Linked DNA regions of Homo sapiens: region 1 is linked to region 2. The links are contacts of gene promoters, found by promoter capture Hi-C in human tissues and cell types (Jung and others, 2019). All regions are on one chromosome and are shown on one strand. The core of a region is centred on a gene start or on the middle of the fragment in contact, and the rest is flanking DNA. Distances in the headings are between cores, read along the strand shown. Region 1 overlaps LOC105372776 (a long non-coding RNA gene). Region 2 holds the start of KRTAP19-8 (keratin associated protein 19-8).

Evidence for each region. Contacts are between HindIII fragments. The study calls those that stand out against the background at their distance.
Region 1: a contact is called between a fragment that was not itself captured here and the fragment with the promoter of KRTAP19-8 in region 2, in 1 of the 25 tissues and cell types used here (adrenal gland).

The regions. Positions count from the first base shown.
Region 1 is chr21:30,999,544-31,003,629 of GRCh38, forward strand. The region is part of intron 1 of LOC105372776 (a long non-coding RNA gene); the gene reads right to left. Among named protein-coding and RNA genes, the nearest start is that of KRTAP19-8, 37 kb to the right of the region's middle. The HindIII fragment of the contact is 6,939 bases long and covers 1-4,086 here.
Region 2 is chr21:31,037,056-31,041,152 of GRCh38, forward strand. KRTAP19-8 (keratin associated protein 19-8) reads right to left here and starts at 1,421. Exons shown (of 1, transcript NM_001099219.1): 1 at 1,104-1,421. The coding sequence starts at 1,388. The coding sequence ends at 1,197. RefSeq lists an enhancer at 2,131-2,300. The HindIII fragment of the contact is 7,103 bases long and covers 1-4,097 here.

The sequences.
Region 1 (4,086 bases), core at 719-3,218, 37 kb before region 2:
TCGCTCTGAGAAGGATTAGTAATGTCTTCTGAGCAGACATGAGGAGGCTTTAATTAACACCCAGGCCCTCAAATCCTTTAACAGTAGATGTAGCTCAGGAAGGCCATGCAACGCCTGTTGATGGCTTGTCCCAAATGTCATCGTGACCCAAGCTAAGTGATGAGCTTATTGAACATCTGACATTGATGAGCTTCTTTTGAAATAGGTTTCATTTTTCTCCAAGCACTTCCTTCCAACGTACCTGGTCTGAGTCCTGTTCCCAGTTCTTGACGGCAAAGGAGCTTATTGGTCAGTTGCAGTGGTAAGAAGGGCCTTCTTATAAATTGATTTCTGCAGACATGACTCACTAATGTAACTTAAACTTCAGCCTCAGGTCCATGTCACAACACAAGCCTGGCCCTGGAGTGGGGATGTGTAATGGGGGCCATACTCTCTCTTCTCCCTCCCTGTCCTGACACCTGTTCCTCCAGAGCCAGGCAGGTGGGAACCAGATCAGAGAAGAAGAGGCACACGTCCCTCCTCCCGGGTGCTAGTGAGTTACCCACTGGGAGATGTCCACATACTGGCTCTTTCTTGGGGTGCATGGAAGAGTTTTCAAAAGCCTGCAGGGAACTTTACCCTGGTAGGTCCCCTATAGGGGCGATCTGCTCTGCTGTCTCCAGTTCCTGCCCTAACAGTGCATCCACACAACTGTTACTGCTGTAATTCCCTGACCACCGCAGGATATCCTCTTGGCCATTGTATCCTCAAGGCACTTTTGCCAGGTTATCGCCCATTATTTCATTTGGTCCATAGGAATGCATACATTTGTACCAGACAAAAGGTGTGAGTGTCACCCTCCCAGCTGCCTTCTCTCAACTTCCTGACATCACAAACTGCTCTTATCAGCCTTCCCTCTCCACAGTTATGAAAGCAAGCAAGAGGTACAAGCTCATAAACTCACGTGCATGCACAGACTCCGGGAAATGTGTCACATTCTCCCAAGAAGGTTCTCACCACCCCCTACCACACGGAGACGGATCTTTGGATTTCTTCAGCTAAGCAGGCCTCCAGTCACTAAATCAGTCTCCGCTCTTGTTGGCATGCTCCTATCTCCAAAAGGCGACCTGGAGCCCTGGCCCTCAGGCAGCATAAGGAGGGAACAGAGCCTCACTGCCTAAGACCTCTTGCTAGATCAGTAACCACTCTTTCCATGAATCCCCCTTTCTACCAATGCTCTTCTTGAATGAAATGTCATGAAATCTAGTCTTCTCTTTACATAGAGTGTGGGGGTAGCACAACAATCCACTCTTCTTTAGTGAGGCATTTGGAAGAGGAATTTGCCACCTCCTAGCATTCCCTTTAAGATATGGAAACACCTACTGCTTATTATCCTCAGCTTTGGGACTTTAGCTGAAAGCCCTGACAATAGGAAATGTCTCCTTCGGCATCCCGTTAATCTGTGTGCAGCTGCATTATAAATAGTATTACTGGCAGGGTACCATGGCTCACGCCTGTAATCCCAACTCTTTGGGAGATCACCTGAGGCCAGGAGTTCAAGACTAGCCTGGGCAACATGGAGAAACCTTGTCTCTACTAAAAATAAAAAAAAAAAATAGCTGGGCGTGGTGGCACATCCCTTTAACCCCAGCTACTCAGATAGCTACTCACTTGCTGAGGCACGTGAATCGCTTGAACCTGGGAGGTAGAAGTTGCAGGGAGCCGAGATTGTGCCACTGCTCTCCACCCTGGGCGACAGAGACTCTGTCTCAAAAAATAAAGTATTATTTAAATTCTTGGCAATCTGAGATGTTGACCAGGTAGAGGGTTTATCCCACCAGATACAATAAAAGATAGATCCTATTGCATCTAATAGTAACTCAGCTGGCCAGGGTCTGTGCTAAGGCATGCAAAATAAACACTGGGAAGGCAAGGGTAGTGACAGCAGGAAGAAAAGGAATAAATAAACCTATCACACGCCAGCATCATGAAGATGTTACCGAGAGCCCATGGCTATTGGGATCCTGAAGTAACACGAGGAAACAAAGATCAGTTTCACACACAGAAATAGGGAAGACATGTTGATGTCATGAAGATCCTCAAAGGGACCTCAGGGATGACCATCCTTACCGTAGCTCTAAAGTGACAACCTGAGCCAGGCTTACATCACAAAGAGGAGAATAAGAGAAACCCTCATCCCATGGTGACATCCCAAGACTGTCTCCTGATCTAGCCCCCTCCCATCACCACGCCAACCAGGAGGCGTCAGCCTGGCACTAACGCGGAGATGTCTGTGCTCAGGGTCTGCCTGTTTTCTCTTGGGAGCTGTGGGGATCTTGTGTTGCTCACTGCTACTTCTTGGACTTTCAGCCTTCTCCATGCGCAGCATCAATAGCTGAGAAAACATTCCGAATCACACTGACCCTATTTATTAAGCAAAGGAAGAATATTCTAAGATATAAGGAACAGCTGATTACTGCTATAATGTTGTTTAATAGATAAGAACTAAAGGATGTTGGAAGGTTGTGACATTGGTCAACCAGAAGGAAATTTAGAAGGAAATGTTAACCAGGGTAGCCTTGATGCCAGCCCCCCATTTCTTAGAAGTTGAGAGCTAAAGGGTATCAGAACAGCTCCTGAGCGTCCCAACAAGGATTCCTAGATTTACTCAATTTGAAGATACCATCAATTGTGAGACACAACAAAAAATGGGAGGAAATAACAATTCACCAAAATTTTAAACATTCGATCAATAGTAAGGTGCTTCTCAATTTCATAAATATTAAAATGTGATGGGAAAAACTAATCAGAAAAAGAGAATAATTAAATGACTCCTAGGACTAGAAGAAAACCTCGAAAGGTCTTTCAGCTGACCCCATGCCTTGAGGCGGGCCCCTACACTTCCGCCCAAATCAGAGAAAGTCTGACTAATGTTAAAGATTAGGTTCTTTTCATTTTCCATGCCATTCCCTCAGTGAGAGTGAATTATAATTTGCCACGAATATAAAGAAGAGAGAAAAAAGTACATACAATTTGCATACTAAAAATTGGAATACTAATGAAGACAAATCACTCCCCTCTGGGAGATGATCTGCTACTAAAATCCTTTTCCTCTGCTTTTAACTTGGCTTAGTGAAAAATAAATAATTTTTTTAAACTGCAGGGGGTGGGCAATGAGCTTCATTTAGAAAGTATTTCAAAGGTACCCTGGCTTTGTGCATTTTAAACATGAATTTCAGTAGATGCATTTATCTTTTTAACTATATTGTGCACGCATGCTAAGTTATATATGGCTCTTACAAGAATACGAAATTAGAATCTGCCCCACTGCAGAGAAAAGTGAAACACTCTTCATTATACCAGGCAGTGTAGGGTAACCTCCGGCTTTGAGTCAGCTGAACCTAAGTTTGAAATTCAACTTTATAACTCACTTCGGCATCCCACCTCTATCTCTTGAACTTCTGTTTCTTGATTTATAAAATGGTGCAAATAATTCCCACACGTTACATTCAGGAATCGGTGAGATAACAGGTGTATATAACACTTTACACAGTGCCAGGGATTCGGTAAGGTTTTGGTCTATCATCTCGGCCCCTTTAAAAACAACCATTATAATAGAGTTTTTCAAAGTAAATGCTAATTTTAAAGTGAATCACATTGTTCCTAATTATGCTGGTTTAGATTGCAACTTTCATGGGAAATGAGGAGGCAGCATTTTGTTTTTACTTAATAAACAAATGGTGCCTAGTTTATGCCACGCTCCATATGAGGTGTGAGAATGGACAGAGAGAAGACTGTGACACAGTTCTGGTTCCCCAAGGTTCCACCATCTAGTAGCCCACTGAGGAGCAGGGCGAAGCCTCGCCAGACACAGTGAGCCAGGCTCTAATAGAGGCATGGTACCAGGGGCAGGGCCCTCAAAGAGGCGTCTGACAACCTGGAACACTGAAAAGGGCTCCATAGAGGTACAGGAACTGGAGTACAGCAAGATGTGGATGAAGCAGGGTGGGGTCTGCAGTGAGAACTGGATGCCCTGTTGCTCAGAAGGAAGGGAATCGGCTCTCATCACGGCTGTCAGCCAAGGGGCCCGGGGAAGAGAACACGCCT
Region 2 (4,097 bases), core at 171-2,670:
CAATTTATTTTTCCATTATACTGTTGATAGACATTAGGTTGTTTATGGTGAAGTCCAGACGTGCACATTTTCCAGTTATGTGGCAAATATCTGTAGCTTGCCTTGAAAGCAAATAATTTTTCATTTATGCTTCTTGACAAAATGCAAGGCATTCTGCCTGACCCTGTAAGGGTGTACATATGGAGTGCTACTGTTGAGGTTTTTTGTCAGCTGCTGGGGCAAAAATAAACTCCACCTAGGGTGGGAGATATTTGACCAGAGTGTGTGAGTATGTGTGTGTATAAGAGGAAATGGGGTGAGAAGAGGGTGGAGAGCTATAAAAGAACACCATTATCCCCAAATTATCCCCAAACCACTGGACAGATTAAAAATGATTTTATATTATAACACTGATGAGCAAGTTTCTTAATCCACAAATATTCTTGACTGCCTTATACATGCCAGGTATTGTCATGACCACAGAATATACAATGGTGAATTAACACACACACAGATCCTGGAAGCTTGGGTCTGGTTCTGTGAAATGAATCAATAGAAATGAAACCAAGTGAGATATACCAGCCACAGAAAGACAAATACTGCCCGATTCCACTTTACATGAGGCATCCAAAAGAGTGAAATTTGTAGAATCCAAGAGTAGAATGGCAGTTACCAAGGGCTGGGTGAAGGGAGAAATAGGCAGTTACTGACAAAGAGGCATGAAGTTTAAGTCAGGCAAGGTGAACGGACCTTAGAGATCAGCTATACAGTATGGTACCTGTAGTCGACAATAATGTATGGTTGACTCAAACAGTTGTTAGGAGGGTAGATCTCATGTTAAGTGTTCTTACCACAGTAAAACAGAAAAAAAAATTAAACCAAATTTGCTCTACTATTAAAATTAGTTTATTGAAATAGAAGAAGAGTTGGTGCCATGTTGATATATTAATAAGGGAAGAGAGGGATTCACAGCTTGAAAGGTGGGATTCTAGGTCATTCTACAGGAAGGGCTCCCCTTGCTGCTGCCACTGATTCTGTTGTGTTTGTTGCCAGAATTGAGTCTTGACTTTGAAGAGTTCACAAGGCACCCTTTGCTGCTTTGTCTGGTTTATCAAGAAAGTGGCTGCGCAATTCACAGAGGGGGTAAAAAGACCTGAAAGGAGAATTAAGTCAGGATGATAGACAGATTCTAGTGATCCAAAGAATGAGTTCACTCTTCAGTAGAAGGCAGAGAATCCATATCCTCCGTAGTATAATGGTCGGCAACAGCTGAATCCATAGCCTCCGTAGCCACAGCCATAGCCCAACCTGCGGAAGCTGCCATAGCCGCAGCCATAGCCATAGCCCCAGCCACCAAAGCCTCCATAGCCATAGCCCAGGCCTCCATAATAGCTTCTGTAGTAGCTCATGGTTCAGCAACTGTAGATGTGTTTGGAGGTCAAGGGCAAGTTTCCTGAGTACAACTATCACCAGCTTCCCTGGGACTTTTATACATCCTCAGTGATTAGTGGGGTAGACTTCTCATGGCGTAGATTCAATTGCATGAAAAAAAACTCACTCATCTTAAAACTGTAGGACAATTCCTGACACTAATTAAAGATGTTTTCATTCGATTTCTGTGCAGTTTGGATTCCACAGGATGATTATGCTGTCTTCAAAGCCCTCTTGCTTTGACCATCATAGTTAAAGCTCTATAATCAGACATAAGAGCAGCAATCAGCTCCCATTTTGTCACCTAAAATTGTTCTTTCATTACAGCCCCTTCCCAGTATCCAATTCTTAATGTATTCCTTGCACAAATATTTAATGCCCAACTAATGCATCCCAGGCACTATGCTCAGAGCTAGAGATATGGCTGTAAATAAGAACTGCCCTTCCCAATCCCATGAGTTTTTCCCCTTCATCTTTGTTATTTAAGTTAGTGAAGTAATAGAAGAGGTACACTTACTGTATAAATCCAACAAAATGTAGCTGATAGCACAAAAGGATCACATTTATTTTTTTAAGAGAGAGAGAAAAACCCAAATGGAAAAATTTTGTTTCCTTACACATTACTACCCTTTTAACTCAATGTTGTTTATGAAACTTTTGATAGCTCTTAGCTCTTACTGCAAGACTTTTTCATTATTCAATGTTTATATAGGAAATAACACTAGGGGCAAGAGCCGTGGGTGTGATTTTTGCAAAGTGATACCATATTCTTCATCTTTGTAATCTTCTTTTTAAAAAATAATCTTCTAAAGAGATTAACATCTGAGTACTGGATCTACCCATCTGACTCCACAGTCACAGGTAGGCAGGCAGCCCTCTCTGCCTTACTAAATTCCTAACACAATCAGCAAAGAGGTTTTAAAAAGCTGTTTTCCAAATTCTGGGATTCCATCTTCTGCTCTCTAAGGAAACCTTAATTAAACTACAATTTACAGAAATATGTAAAATTAAAAATACTTAAATATGACATTTTCTTTTTGAAGAATGAAGCCCACTGAAGTGTTCATGATAAGGGTCAGAATCACTTCTACTTAGCCATTGGTATCAAAACCAATTTCAAGCACATAAGCAGTACGACTATTCTATATACTATTAATAATCACTTCAGATAGAATAATATAATATCAGAACTGGTGTAACCCTCTTACTTTACAGATGATGAAACAGAATTGGAGAAGATTGGTCAGATCACCCAGTGAGTGACAAAACCCAGACTAGAACCTAAATCATTCACTTTCACCTGTTTTTTTTCATCATCACATTTTTATAGATGTTGTACAACAAAGGCAAAAGCAAGAAATATTGTATTATCACAACAGAAGAATGAAAATGCTCCTTTGCTTTCTCGGTTGGTGAGCTTTCTCATTTTGATTTTTGATCTATATGCTGATTGGTCTGTTCCTTTCCTTTGGGCCAGAACTCAAAGGACTAAAATTAGCAAGTGGACACTGAAAGTCACATCCACTTATTCTCAATGAGATTACAATGGAGATGCCTGTTGCATTGATTGTTCAAGAGATGTAAAACTGAGAGGGGAGAACAAAAATAGGTTCAAAAGTTTTGAAGTGGAAAGTTGAAGCCCAACTCTTTCTTGTCTTAGAGTTAAAAGTATATGTATTCACTAAGAGATAAATATTAAAGCAAAACAAGATGTAAAATGGGACTCAGTTTTAGCTGAGAACCTGTATCATCAGTGACAACAGCTCTCACATCCCCAAGAAAGGTGGTAATCTACCTAAGAAGGACTTGCAAAGGGAGCTACAGAAACCTAGATCCGCAGTCTGCAACTAATTGAAATCACCTTTGCAATAATTTTAACTGAGAAAATTATAACAGTGAAAGAGATCTGATCTAACCGATTCCTTCTTGCTTCTAACCTCTAAGCTGTCCTTGTTCATTCCTGGGTGTAGGCCAAACTAACTTTGGGAGGAATTTAGTTTATAGTTTAACTTCAAAACAAGGATGATAACAGCCCTTTCCTGAGATGAACCCCCTTCTTGCATGAGGACCAGTCTGCCTTTGTAGGACTAACAAATGAACTATAAGATTAGAAGCCAGGTGTGGTGGCTCACCTGAGGTCAGGAGTTTGAGACCAGCCTGACCTATATGGTGAAACCCCATCTCTACTAAAAATACAAAAATTAGCTGGGCATGGTGGCGGGCACCTTGGGAGGCTGAGACAGGAGAATTGCTTGAACCCAGGAGGCGGAGGTTGCAGTGAGCCAAGATTGTACCACTGCACTCCAGCCTGGGTGACAGAGCAAGACTCCATCTCAAAAAAAAAAAAAAAAGATTAGAAAGTATGGCTTCAGAGTCATGCCACCAGAGGCTCCAGCTGCAAGATTCTCAACCTCCCTAAGTTGCTCCTGGGAATAACATCACTGTCGTAAAACCTAAGATCAGCACTTGAAATATTTTGCAGACTTTGCCTTCTGATGCACCAAGGGATGCCACCCAGACAAGTAATCTGGCTCAACCAGTTCTGCAATCCCACCCAGAAACAGAAGATAGCAAGAAAACCCACTTCAACCCGCTGATTTCATCCTGACCCAGCCACTCAGTACTCCCCACTTCCCGATCCCCTACCCACCAAATTATCCTTAAAAACCCTGATCCTCAGATTTTCA